Regions from separate parts of the Homo sapiens genome. Here all the other regions are linked to region 2. The links are contacts of gene promoters, found by promoter capture Hi-C in human tissues and cell types (Jung and others, 2019). All regions are on one chromosome and are shown on one strand. The core of a region is centred on a gene start or on the middle of the fragment in contact, and the rest is flanking DNA. Distances in the headings are between cores, read along the strand shown. Region 1 overlaps AMBRA1 (autophagy and beclin 1 regulator 1). Region 2 holds the start of F2 (coagulation factor II, thrombin). Region 3 overlaps AMBRA1 (autophagy and beclin 1 regulator 1).

The links. The method cuts DNA at HindIII sites, captures the fragments that hold promoters and counts their contacts. A contact is called where the count stands out against the background at its distance.
Region 1: a contact is called between a fragment that was not itself captured here and the fragment with the promoter of F2 in region 2, in 2 of the 25 tissues and cell types used here (bladder and dorsolateral prefrontal cortex).
Region 3: a contact is called between a fragment that was not itself captured here and the fragment with the promoter of F2 in region 2, in 4 of the 25 tissues and cell types used here (dorsolateral prefrontal cortex, mesenchymal stem cells, mesendoderm cells and 1 more).

The regions. Positions count from the first base shown.
Region 1 is chr11:46,463,562-46,467,384 of GRCh38, reverse strand. All of the region lies in intron 11 of AMBRA1 (autophagy and beclin 1 regulator 1), which reads left to right. Among named protein-coding and RNA genes, the nearest start is that of MIR3160-1, 14 kb to the right of the region's middle. The HindIII fragment of the contact is 5,711 bases long and covers 1-3,823 here.
Region 2 is chr11:46,716,614-46,720,789 of GRCh38, reverse strand. F2 (coagulation factor II, thrombin) reads right to left here and starts at 1,577. Exons shown (of 14, transcript NM_000506.5): 1 at 1,476-1,577; 2 at 928-1,088; 3 at 243-267. The coding sequence starts at 1,554. The HindIII fragment of the contact is 9,646 bases long and covers 1-4,176 here.
Region 3 is chr11:46,515,532-46,519,571 of GRCh38, reverse strand. All of the region lies in intron 7 of AMBRA1 (autophagy and beclin 1 regulator 1), which reads left to right. Among named protein-coding and RNA genes, the nearest start is that of MIR3160-1, 66 kb to the right of the region's middle. The HindIII fragment of the contact is 3,250 bases long and covers 758-4,007 here.

The sequences.
Region 1 (3,823 bases), core at 897-3,396, 250 kb after region 2:
CTGTATTTGTGAATATTTATATAGTTATAATACTGTAAATAATTTACATTAACCCAAACATGGGATGTAACTATTTTGGAAGGATGGGGGAGAAAAGAAGGTAGGAACAAATCATCTCCCATCATAGGAAATCAGTAGATAATAGCGGAAATTGAAAAATCAGTTATAGGCCTAGTGCAGTGGCTCACACCTGTAATCCCAGTACTTTGGGAGGCTGAGGTGGGCAGATCCCTTGAGATCAGGAGTTTGAGACCAGCCTTGCCAACACGGTGAAACCCCTTCTCTACTAAAAATACAAAAATTAGCCAGGTGTGGTGGCGTGCACCTTAGTCCCAGCTATTCAGGAGGCTGAGACAGGAGAATCGCCTGGATCCGGGAGGTGAAGGTTTCAGTGAGCCAAGATCGTGCCACTGCACTCCAGCCTGGCAACAGAGCGAGACTCCATCTCAAAAAAAAAAAAAAGAAAAAAGAAAAGAAAAAAAGAAACATTAGTAATTTTAGAAATATGATGGTTAATTATCAGAAGAAAAAAAAGGTTTGAAAAGTGATTGCCTCTGGAGAACAGAAATCAAGGAGGGTGGGTCATGGGGCTGGAGGCTGCCATTTAACTTTATTAGCCTTGAATACTTTCTAACTTTAAAAATTATGGGTAGGTAGTACTTTGATAAAAATAAAAATTTGAAAGCTATCCACTGTGTAATTTACTTACTCAAAAATGTCAAAAGATTTCTCTTTCCTGCCACACAGATGACAAGTTCCTTATCTTTTTTCAACCTGATCTCTATTATTATTTATATAAGCCTTTGCTTCCCACTGAACTGGTATTAGCTCTTGACCCCTGAATCCACTTTGAGCAGTAACCTCTTTCTATCCTGAACCATTCTCCTTTCCACATGCTTCAAGCCCTAGTTCCTCTGTACTCTGTAAATTTCCTGCTCCTTCTCAGGTAGCCATTGGTGCCCAGTGGCCCCTTCCTAAATGGCTGTGGCTGTGGTTGGTCTCCTCGTTAGATACTCACATTGCCCTTTTTTTTTTTTTTAGACAGAGTCTTGCTCTGTTGCCCAGGCTAGAGTGCAGTGGCACGATCTCGGCTCACTGCAACCTCCGCCTCCTGGGTTCAAGTGATTCTCCTGCCTTAGCCTCCCAAGTAGCTGGGACTACAGGCGTGTGCCAGCACGCCTGGCCTCATTTATAATGCTTTTGATGGAAGTCCTATCTTCCCAACTGGATTGTAGGCTCCAAACAAGCAAGAAGTACATCTTACTACCATTTTATGTACATCTTCCACAGTGCTATTTGATAAATACCTGTTTAATATTCAGTTCTCACTCAGCCATCAAAAAGCTTTCTGTTTTGAGATCACTATTCTTTATTCTAGGCATGTCTCAAGACTCTGTACTTTAGTCTAGATCCCAAATCTGTGTATCTTTGTCAGCCTTAGTGAGGTTGAAGGCCAAGGCTTTATCTGTTTGCTGCTGATACTGTCGCTGGTTGGCACAGCATGCTAGTTGTTTTTTATAGAATATAGCATGGACAGTTGCACAATTTCTGTGAATGTTTAAGCAAGATTGTATGTATACATTTCAGAAGTTCTGTGTTACTTATGAGAAGTGCTAATTTATCATGAGCATCACTATTTTGGGGATGGATGAACCTTTTTCCTTTCTACCTCCTTACACTGATGATCCCTTACACTGCAAAGAGCCAGGAAAAACCAAAAGTAAATAAAGCCCTATGCAGTCTCCACTTTTTCTCTTTGCACTCTCTAACCACCTGGCTTTGCATGTTCCCTAGAGAGGCTTCCTCTGTGATATATCTTAGCCTGTTGAGCCCCAAAGTTACCTGAAATATTTAGGTCACTAGTTTTTAATCTTTAGAGAACAGTGAACTCTCTGAGAAAATATGGTAAAAACTTAGACCCTACACTAAGAAAAAAACACCTACACATAACTGTAGTAACGTGTGCCCAGGATTTTGTTTTTATTCCAATATGGTAAGGACAAAAGATGAAGAGATGATTGCCGTTGAAAGGATAGTTTGTTCCTTACAGTTCCCAAGAGATGAGCGTGTGCCATGCCACACAACACAAGGCCACATGGGGAAGTACCAGGGAGTCAGGAGGCAGAAGGAGGGCAGGGAGGAGCATGAGCCTTTATTGGGGTTTCTAGGGGAAGGGATGGGTGAGGCTAAGTAAGTTTAGGATTGGATCGGTTTGAATAATTTTGGCAGGGTCTGGGCTGTAGGTGTGGGCACTAGTTGTCCATACTTGGCCCTGGGGTGATTTAGGGCTGGGGAATATTGTCTTGGTGTTTATTTTTTTTTATTTTTTATTTTTATTTTTTGAGAGGGAATCTCACTGTGTCGCCAGGCTGGAGTGCGGTGGCGCGATCGCAGCTCACTGCAACCTCCACCTCCCGGTTCAAGTGATTCTCCTGCCTCAGACTCCTGAGTAGCTGGGATTACAGGCACCCACCACCATGCCTGGCTAATTTTTGTATTTTTAGTAGAGACGGGGTTTCACCCTGTTGGCCAGGATGGTCTCAAACTCTTGACCTCGTGATCCGACTGCCTTGGCCTCGCAAAGTGCTTGGATTACAGGTGTGAGCCACTGCGCCCGGCCTTGTCTCGGTGTTTAATAAAGGAGGTAGTTAGGGTATGGACTCTGGATTGGTTGGTTTGCATATCAAAGGCAAGTTGTTTGCAATCTCCAGGAAGTAACTAACCCTGGGAGGTACAGTTGCTTATCTGCAAAGCCCCTAAGATGTCAAAGCATCATAAAATATAGAAAATTAAAAATATTAATGTAATAACACACTCATGAACACATGCACAATTTTATTTGCTATTTCAGGGGTTTCTTGAACCACCTGAAGCCTATCTGTAGACCCAAGGTACAAAACCCAAATTGGGTCCTGGGAGCTCTGTGCCTTTGAATACAGTATTTGAGTTTAGTTTAGACCATCTCAGGAAGGTGCATAGTGAATTATTAAATCCAGGGAAATGCAGCAACTGCTCAACTTTTTTGGTAAAGCTTTTCTTTCTACTTTGTTTTGACTTTTATACTAGGAGCTTATTTGTGGGTATTTTGTGCCAAGAGGGATAAGCCTGCATTCTCTAATTGCTGCATCAAGTCTGCTCACAGGGCGTCCTGATGACATTTTAAATACATGGAAATTTTTGAATGCATGAAAACATCTAGTGCTGATTCTCTGGCACCTGCTCTTCTCTTCTTGGAGTTTATCCCATTGCCTAATTCTGTATATTGTTTCCAAACCTTTCATTAACCATTGTTGGAATTTTTGCTTTTTAACCTCAGCATCCCCACTTATCTTTTGAACAGAAACAAAAACTGTCTCTGACTACTAGGCATTTCCTAGAGTGAAAAGCTCCCTATCTCTCCTTTTCTGACTTTTCAGAGCATGAAATGGCTGTGCTAATCCTGTTGGCCCCAAGGCAAGAGCCTTGCAGAGGCTAACAAAGGAGAAGGCCTGCACCCACTTGGATCTTCCACAGGCCAGAGCAGGAATTTTTTTGTTACGTTTTACCAACTTGCAGAGGGAAGCCCGCCCACCCCGGCTTTGTTTTGGCTGCAGTTATATTTCCCCTGCATGAAACCATCAATTTCTTAGGGCCCCGAGTACTGTGCTATGTAGACTTCCAGAAGTTGGGTGCTTTCCTGGAGTTGCAGAAATCAGACAAAAGATTTTTAGGAATTTTGGAAGTGCCATTCTGACGATTGAGTGGGTATCTTCTCAAAGCCAAAGATACTTTGAGTCCTAGTTAACAAATTGAGTTGTAATTCTGTGCTTTTGTGCAAGGTACT
Region 2 (4,176 bases), core at 328-2,827:
CTGGAAAAGACCCAGGTGTTTACCTTTGGGATTGGGGTATGGCCAGGATGAGCTGGAGTCAGGGTGGATGGGATGTTGGTGAGAAACAGAAAGATGGATGAACAGATGGGAGGGACCAAGGAAGGAGTGGGGAAGGGGTGGATGGGTGGATGGCTAGGTGCAGCAGAAGATTCTCTGGGTAGAATTCTCTCACTGGGGTCCCCAGGCCTCCCTTCCTGGGGCAAATCCTTCCCGGTGCTCACCTGTGTACTTGGCCCAGAACACATCCTGAAAAACAAGGGCTGGGAGTGAGGCTACGGCAGCTCCTGTTTTGTGTTGTTTTAGTAAATGTTATGTCTCCTCCTCACACTTTCCTTTACCCTGGTCACGCAGGGGGCAGGCTCTGGGGAGGTTTGTGGCAGAGTTTCCTACTTTTGTTTCCAAAAGGAGAAGAATATTTGAGGATAGGGGAGTTCCTCCAACACACACACCGAGACTGAAAGAGGCTGGGGGAGATGGGAGGAGAGGGGGCAGTGGGACCCTGGCAGAGCCCTACAGACAGGAAAGGCGACACAGAGCTCCAGGAACACTGAGTCTTGAGCCCGGGGGCTTGTGGTGGCCTCCCCAGAGTCCCACCCCTCAAGGGTGGTGTGGGAGTCTGCCGCTGAGGAGGCCATGTGGACACAGAGCTCCAGGGCAGGTGGATGTCTGAAGACTGTGGAGGCCTCCCCATGTCATGGAGCTGCACAGGGACACAGTCCAGGCACAGAGACCCCCAGGAAAGGCTGAGGCCGCTCCTCTTGCCAGCCCTGTGAGGAGGGGCTCAGAGTTGAAATGAGGCTGTGAGCAGCGAAGGGGCTGTGGCGTTCCTCGCTTGCTTCTCTGTGGAAGTGTCTAGAGTTGGGCCCGGTCTGAGGCCCCGGCACCGTCCGAGCAGCCCAGGCTCACCGTAGCCGTGGAGGACTCCAGAGCCTCGAAGGCCTCCTCGTAGCTGCACGTCTCCTCCACGCACTCTCGCTCCAGGTTGCCCTTGCGCACCTCCTCCAAGAAGGTGTTGGCTCGCCGGACCCGCTGGAGCAGCGACCGTGCTTGCTGAGGAGCCAGGAACACTGTAAGGCGGTGGGGGGGTCATGGGACAGCGGCCTCAGGAACAGGCAGTCTTGGCCATTCTGGGGGCATGAAGCAAGCCCACCCTCCCCTGCTGGCTTCTGAGAGAGGCTGTCTGGGCTGGTGGAAGTGCCTGGAAGGCTGCTAAATGTGGCCCCCTGTGCCCCTCCTACACTGCCCCTTGCCCCCAGCCTGCTCCCTATATTGGAAGAGAGAAGCAGCCATTCTCTTTCCAGCCCTGAGCTCCTGACTTCTTCCCTAAGCTGGCCGCCTGGGGCTGAGACCTACTTAGGGGCCAGCTCTGTGTGCTCTGTCCAGCCAGGAGACCCCAGCCCATGGGCCCACACCCCAGTCCTCCAGCCTGTTCCAGCCTGCAAGCACTCCCTTACCATGCTGGCTGTGCACAAGGCTACACAGGGCAGCCAGGGCCAGGCAGCCAGGCAGCTGCAAGCCTCGGACGTGCGCCATAGTGTGTCAGCTCCTGGGTCACTGAGGAATTGTCTGTCCTGACCCCTCTGGGTTAATGTTGAACTAACATGAAGAAATCAGCGGAGAGGGTGAGGTCAGAGGGTCAGGGCCGTGGGGACGGGTGGGTAGATAGTCCTCCTGTCCATCTCCACCATCTGGGAGGACAGGTCCTCCTGGGAGCAGGGATGGATGGTCTAGGAGGAGTCACAAAAAAGGTCACTGTCACCCCCATCTCCCACCCTCCCCCTCTGAGATTTAGCCCATTCTGGCCAGTGGGGCTATGAGACTTTCCTGGAGCTCCTTCGAATCCTAACATATAGCGGTGGTTGCTTGTCATCTCTGTGTGCCTCAGTTTCCTCATCTATACAATGGGAATAATACTTTGTTGTGAGGACTAAAGGAGATTAGGAATGGAATGTCCATGGAATATCGTAAGTTCTTAATCAGATCTGCACATATAGGCCAATGTGGGGGTTTGTATAATCATAATACACAGATATCAAAAATAGAGACAAAGATAAAAGGTGTGGCCTGATGGAAGTTGCCCCTCGCCATGGGATGCACCAGGGATAGGAACAGCCAACATTTGCCCCAGCTTCTCAGCCACTGGAGGAGGGGCCCATTTCTCCTCCTTCCTGTCCAGGGTGCCTGGAGGTGTGTTTGTGTGTGGCAGCTGCCTGGGAGGAGTCAGGTCCAGGGACTCTTGGGCCTTTAGTCTATCTTCTGTCACCTCCCAGGACCTGCGCCTGTCCCGGAACAGGGGCTACTGAAATCCCTGGGTCTCCACTGAGGGGCCCTCCTTCTCCCTGGCTGCCTGCCCCATGGCAGGCCTAGAGAGGCTTCTGGTCCTACCCTACCCTCCGCCCTACTCCTGTCCCTCCCCCATTTCCTGTTTGCAGTACCCAAGGCAAATATTAGTCTAAGTAGGACAGAGGGACAAAGAGCAGGAACACGGGGAGGCACAAGTTCTCGCCTCGCCTCACCTGTCCTTTGGGCCTGGCTGTTTGGGGTCTGGACCAGGTCATGTGTGGGAACAGGGAGTGTTGGCAGAAAAACTGGGGACCAGGACTCCCGCAAACACCTTAATTCCTGGGAGGCCCATTTCTTATATATTTTCATATATATATTTTTAGGCCAGGCATAGTGGCTCACACTTGTAATCCCAACACTTTGGGAGGCCGACATGGCAGGATCGCTTGAGGCCAGGAGTTTGAGACCAGCCTGGGCAACATAGCAAGACCCTCATCTCTACCAAAAAAAAATTAAAAATTAGCTGGGAATGGTGGTGCATGCCTGCAGTCTGAGCTACTGAGGAGGCTGAGGCAGGAGGATCACTTGAGCCCAGGAGTTCCAGGCTGCAGTGAGCTATGATTGCACCACTGTACTCCAGCCTGGGTAACAGAGTAAGATCCTGTTTCTTTCTTTCTTTCTTTCTTTCTTTTTTTTTTTTTTTTTTGAGACGGAGTCTCGCCCTGTCACCCAGGCTGGAGTGCAGTGGAACAATCTCGGCTCACTGCAATTTCCATCTCCCTGTTCAAGTGATTCTCCTGACTCAGTATCCCAAGTAGCTGGAATTACAGGCGTGTGCCACCACACCTGGCTAATTTTTGTATTTTTAGTAGAGATGGGGTTTCGCCACATTGACCAGGATGGTCTCGAACTCCTGACCTCAGGTGATCCGCCCACCTCCACCTCGGCCTCCCAAGTGCTGGGATTACAGGCGTGAGCCACCATGCCTGGCCTGAATGAGACCTGTTCCTAGAAAAATAAAATAAAATAAAATAAAATTGAATAAATAAAATAAAATTATAATATATATTTTGGGTTTTTGTTGTTTTGTTTTTGAGATGGAGGCTGGAGTGCAATAGCGTGAACTCGGCTCACTGCAACCTCTACCTCCTAGGTTCAAGCGATTCTCCTGCCTCAGCCTCCCGAATAGCTGGAACTACAGGCACCCGCCATCATGCCTGGCTAATTTTTGTATTTTTGTAGAGACAGAGTTTCACCATGTTGCCCAGGCTGGACGTGAACTCCTGACCTCAGGTGATCTGCCCACTTTAGCCTCCCAAAGTGGGGATTACAGGCGTGAACCACTGCTACCTACCTGTTGGGTTTTTTTGTTTGTTTTTGTTTTGTTTTGTTTTGTTTTTTTGAGATGGAGTCTCACTCTGTCACCCAGAAAGGAGTGCAGTGGCGTGATCTCAGCTCACTGCAACCTCGGCCTCCTGAGTACAAGTGATTCTCCTGCCTCAGCCTCCCAAGTAGCTCCCAAGTGCATGCTAGGGATTACAAGCATGCACTACCACGCCCAGCTAATTTTGTATTTTTAGTAGAGATGGGGTTTCACCATGTTGGTCAGGCTGGTCTCGAACTGCTGACCTCAGGTGATCCACCTGCCTCGGCCCCCCAAAGTGCTGGGATTACAGGTATGAGCCACTGCCCGGCCTCTTTGCAGACTTTTACTCACAGTTGCAGGCCTGTTCAGTATATGACATTCTTATACCCAGAAATGGCTATCTTAGCCTGGGCTGCTATAAAATTACTGTAGGCCAGGTGCAGTGGCTCACGCCTGTAATCCCAATACTTTGGGAGGCCGAGGCGGGCCGATCACAAGGTGAGGAG
Region 3 (4,040 bases), core at 1,133-3,632, 200 kb after region 2:
ATTCCCTAACAGTAGAGGCCAGAGAGTTCTAGCAATTGATTGTTTCCAGTGGTTGGAGAAAGTCCAAACATGTTTGTTTGCTTTAGGATATTGATTTTTCTCTGTGATCTGACAACCAGTTAAAAGAGTATCTTCAGGTTATAATTTTTTAGTAAGGAGGAGTTGTCCACGGTTTGTTTATTCCATATGGACTAGTACCCAGACTTTCTGCACCTCAACTCTGATATCTATTGAATTTGAAGTGAAGGGGCCGGGCATGGTGGCGCATGCCTGTAATCCCAGCATGTTGGGAGGCCAAAGTGGGTGGATTATATGAGGCCAGGAGATCAAGACCAGCCTGGACAACATGGTGAAATCCCGTCTCTACTAAAAATACAAAAATTAGCCAGGCTTGGTGGTGCATGCCTGTAGCCCCAGCTACTCGGGAGGCTGAGGCAAGAGAATTGCTTAAGCACAGGAAGCAGAAGTTGCAGTTAGCCAAGATCGCGCCACTGTACTCCAGCCTGGGTGACAGAAACTCTGTCTCAAAAAATGAAATAAAATAAAATAATGAAGTGAAGGTTCTTTTCTTTCAGTTGATCTGCTCCGACCACTTTTTTTCTTTTCCAGAGCTTTCTTTGACTATTTTAAAAATTGTATTCCTAGTGATCAAGAATACAGCTGATACAGGGAACTTCTTTGCACATAACTCAGAATATTAATCAGGGAAAGAAAAAATAGTTGTATTCTTTTAAAAATGTTCAGGATTTCACAGTTTGAATTATATGCCTATTATGATTTTAGCAGAGCTTAATATTCATTTTTGATGTTTTTTTTCCAGTGCACAATACTTTAATTTCAAGTTCTTTTTTGTTCTGTCCCTTAGTAATTTAAAGAATTCTATGTAAGCAAATGTTTTAGAGCAGAAATGGGCGAACATCTTCTGTAAAGGGCTAGGCAGTAGGTATTTTAGGCTTTGTCTCTATCAGGATTCCTCAGTTCTGCCTTGCCAGCTCCAAAGTAGCCACTTATTTACAAAAGAAGACAGCTGACCTGGGGCCTGTAGTTTACCAAACCTGCTGTAGAGCATTAGGGCAAGTTGCTATTCTAAGAAATCTTTTTACAAAGTGAGTAATTCTTTTTTTTTTTTTTTTTTTTTTTTTGAGACGGAGTCTTGCTCTGTCACCTAGGCTGGAGTACAGCGGCGCTATCTTGGCTCACTGCAAGCTCCGCCTCCCAGGTTCATGCCATTCTCCTGCCTCAGCTTCCCAAGTAGCTGGGACTACGGGAGCCCACCACCACGCCCGGCTAATTTTTGCATTTTTAGTAGAGATGGAGTTTCACCATGTTAGCCAGGCTGGTCTCGAACTCCTGACCTCAGGTGATCTGCCCACCTCGGCCTCCCAAAGTGCTGGGATTACAGGCGTGAGCCACCGCGCCTGGCCGTGAGTAATTCTTCTGAAAACAAATGGCTATCTCTTTCTTTTCAGTATTTTACTTTAAGATTTTTGTGTGTTGTATGTTTTTGTTTTTCATTTTGAAATAATTTCAAACTTGCAGAAAACGTATAGAGGATTCCCATATACCCTTTACCCACATTCCCTAAATGTTAACATTTTGCCACATTGGCTTTATTATCTTCTTTTGTTCTCTCTCTCTCTATATATATACGAATATGGGTATACTTTTATATGCTTATAGTTTTTTATATTTAAGCTTATCCTATTCTTTAAGTATTTGGCATTTTTTTTTTTTTTTTTTTGAGACAGAGTCTGTCCCTGTTGCCCAGGCTGGAGTGCAGTGGCGCGATCTTGGCTCACTGCAACCTCTGCCTCCCGGGTTCAAGCGATTCTCCTGCCTCAGCCTCCCAAGTAGCTGGGACAGGCGTGTGCCACCAGGCCCGGCTAATTTTTTGTATTTTTAGTAGAGACATGGTTTCACCATGTTAGCCAGGATGGTCTCGATCTCCTGACCTCGTGATCCACCTGCCTCAGCCTCCCAAAGTGCTGGGATTACAGGCGTGAGCCACTGCACCCGGCCTGTTTAGTATTGTTAAAGTAATATATAGTTTGATAGAGCAGTGGCCTTCAGACTTAAAAAAAAAAAAAAAAAAAAAAAAAAACCTTATTAATAAAATGCTTTCTAGCCGGGCGCGGTGGCTTACGCCTGTAATCCTAGCACTTTGGGAGGCCGAGGCGGGTGGATCACCTGAGGTCAGAAGATTGAGACCAGCTCCAGCCAACATGGTGCAACCCTGTTTTTACTAAAAATACAAAAATCAGCTGGGTGTGGTGGTGGACGCCTGTAATCCCAGCTACTTGGGAGGCTGAGGCAAGAGAATCACTTGAACCCGGGAGGCGGAGGTTGCAGTGAGCCGAGATTGCACCATTGCACTCCAGCCTGGGCAAAAGAGGGAAACTCCATCTCAAAAAAAAAAAAAAAAAAAGCTTTTGAGTAATCCATGTGTGTTATGATTATATATTATATAGCAGAAGTTGTAATATTTCCCCCTTGCTGTCCAATGGATCAAATAGCACAACCCCTCGTATACCTCACTTGGACACCAGTGGTGTATAAAATGAACCAGGCAAGTAGAGAAAACAAGGAAGTATTTTGTTTGGTTGTATTGTGTTTTTGTATTTTTTTTTTCTTCAGCTTCAGTGATAGCAGCTTCGAACCTGAACAAGCTTGTCTGAGCCCTTCCTAGGCCCTCCCTGATTTCTTGTGATAGATTAAGTCAAGTCAAGTTTGTGGTGGTCACAGCAGAATGTGCAGAACTGCCATCGCATTCAATTTTCTCCTACCATTTCCCGTTGACAGCTGTCTGTAACAGGCTAACACTGGGAAAGAAAGATCTTTTGGCCGGGCGCAGTGGGTCACGCCTGTAATCCCAGCACTTTGGGAGGCCGAGGTGGGCGGATCATGAGGTCAGGAGATCAAGACCATCCTGGCTAACACGGTGAAACCCTGTCTCTACTAAAAATACAAAAAGAAATTAGCCAGGCATGGTGGCAGGTGCCTGTAGTCCCAGCTACTTGGGAGGCTGAGGCAGGAGAATGGCTCGAACCCAGGAGGCGGAGCTTGCAGTGAGCCGAGATCGTGCCACTGCACTCCAGCCTGGGCAACAGAGCGAGACACCGTCTCAAAAAAAAAAAAAAAAAAAAAAAAAGAAAGATCTTTCTTTGAGGTTCCTAGCAATGGTGGTAAACATTCCTAGGATGTTTACTCATCTAGTAACTCTAGTTCTTTATTCCACACCAATTGGAGAAGCCTATTTTTACTCCAGATAGTACTCGTATTGTAACTATGAAGAACTGATGTTTCATCAGTGTATATGTGTATTCATGGTGATTGGCTTTCCTGCTTTTGTGCATTAGCAGTAAAGTGACATATATATGTGGCTTGCCAGTTCCACTATATTGTCTGGGCAGCAAATGTTGCCAACACATTCCGTAGTAAGTAGGCACAGGGGATGCGTGTTCCAAAAGAACCTCATCAGAGACTCTCCAGCAACAAAGCTTCATATTTTGGGTCTATTCCAACTTAAAGAAGTCTTCCTAATTAAGGTAGGAAGTTAAGGTGGGAAATAGACTTTTAGGATTGTAAAATGGAGTCATTAAGGCCAGCACAGTGGCTCACACCTGTAATCCCAGCACTTTGGGAGGCCAAAGCGGGCGGATCAGAAGGTCAGGAGTTTGAGACCAGCCTGACCAACATGGTGAAACCCCATCTCTACTAAAAGTACAAAAATTAGCCGGGTGTGGTGGCGCATGCCTTTAATCCCAGCTACTCAGGAGGCTGAGGCAGGAGAATCGCTTGAACCCAGGAGGCGGAGGTTGCAGTGAGCCAAGATTGCGCCACTGCACTTCAGCCTGGGTGACAGAGTGAGACTGCGTCTCAAAAAATAAAAAATAAAAATGGAGTCATTAAAACTGAAGTTACCTAATGCAAACCCTTCAGATCAGGAATCTCCTTTACAGCATTCCTAATAAATCATCTCATCTCACTCAGTACTGTCATTGCCTTAGCAGATTGGGGGTAATATTTGCTTTTGTTACCAT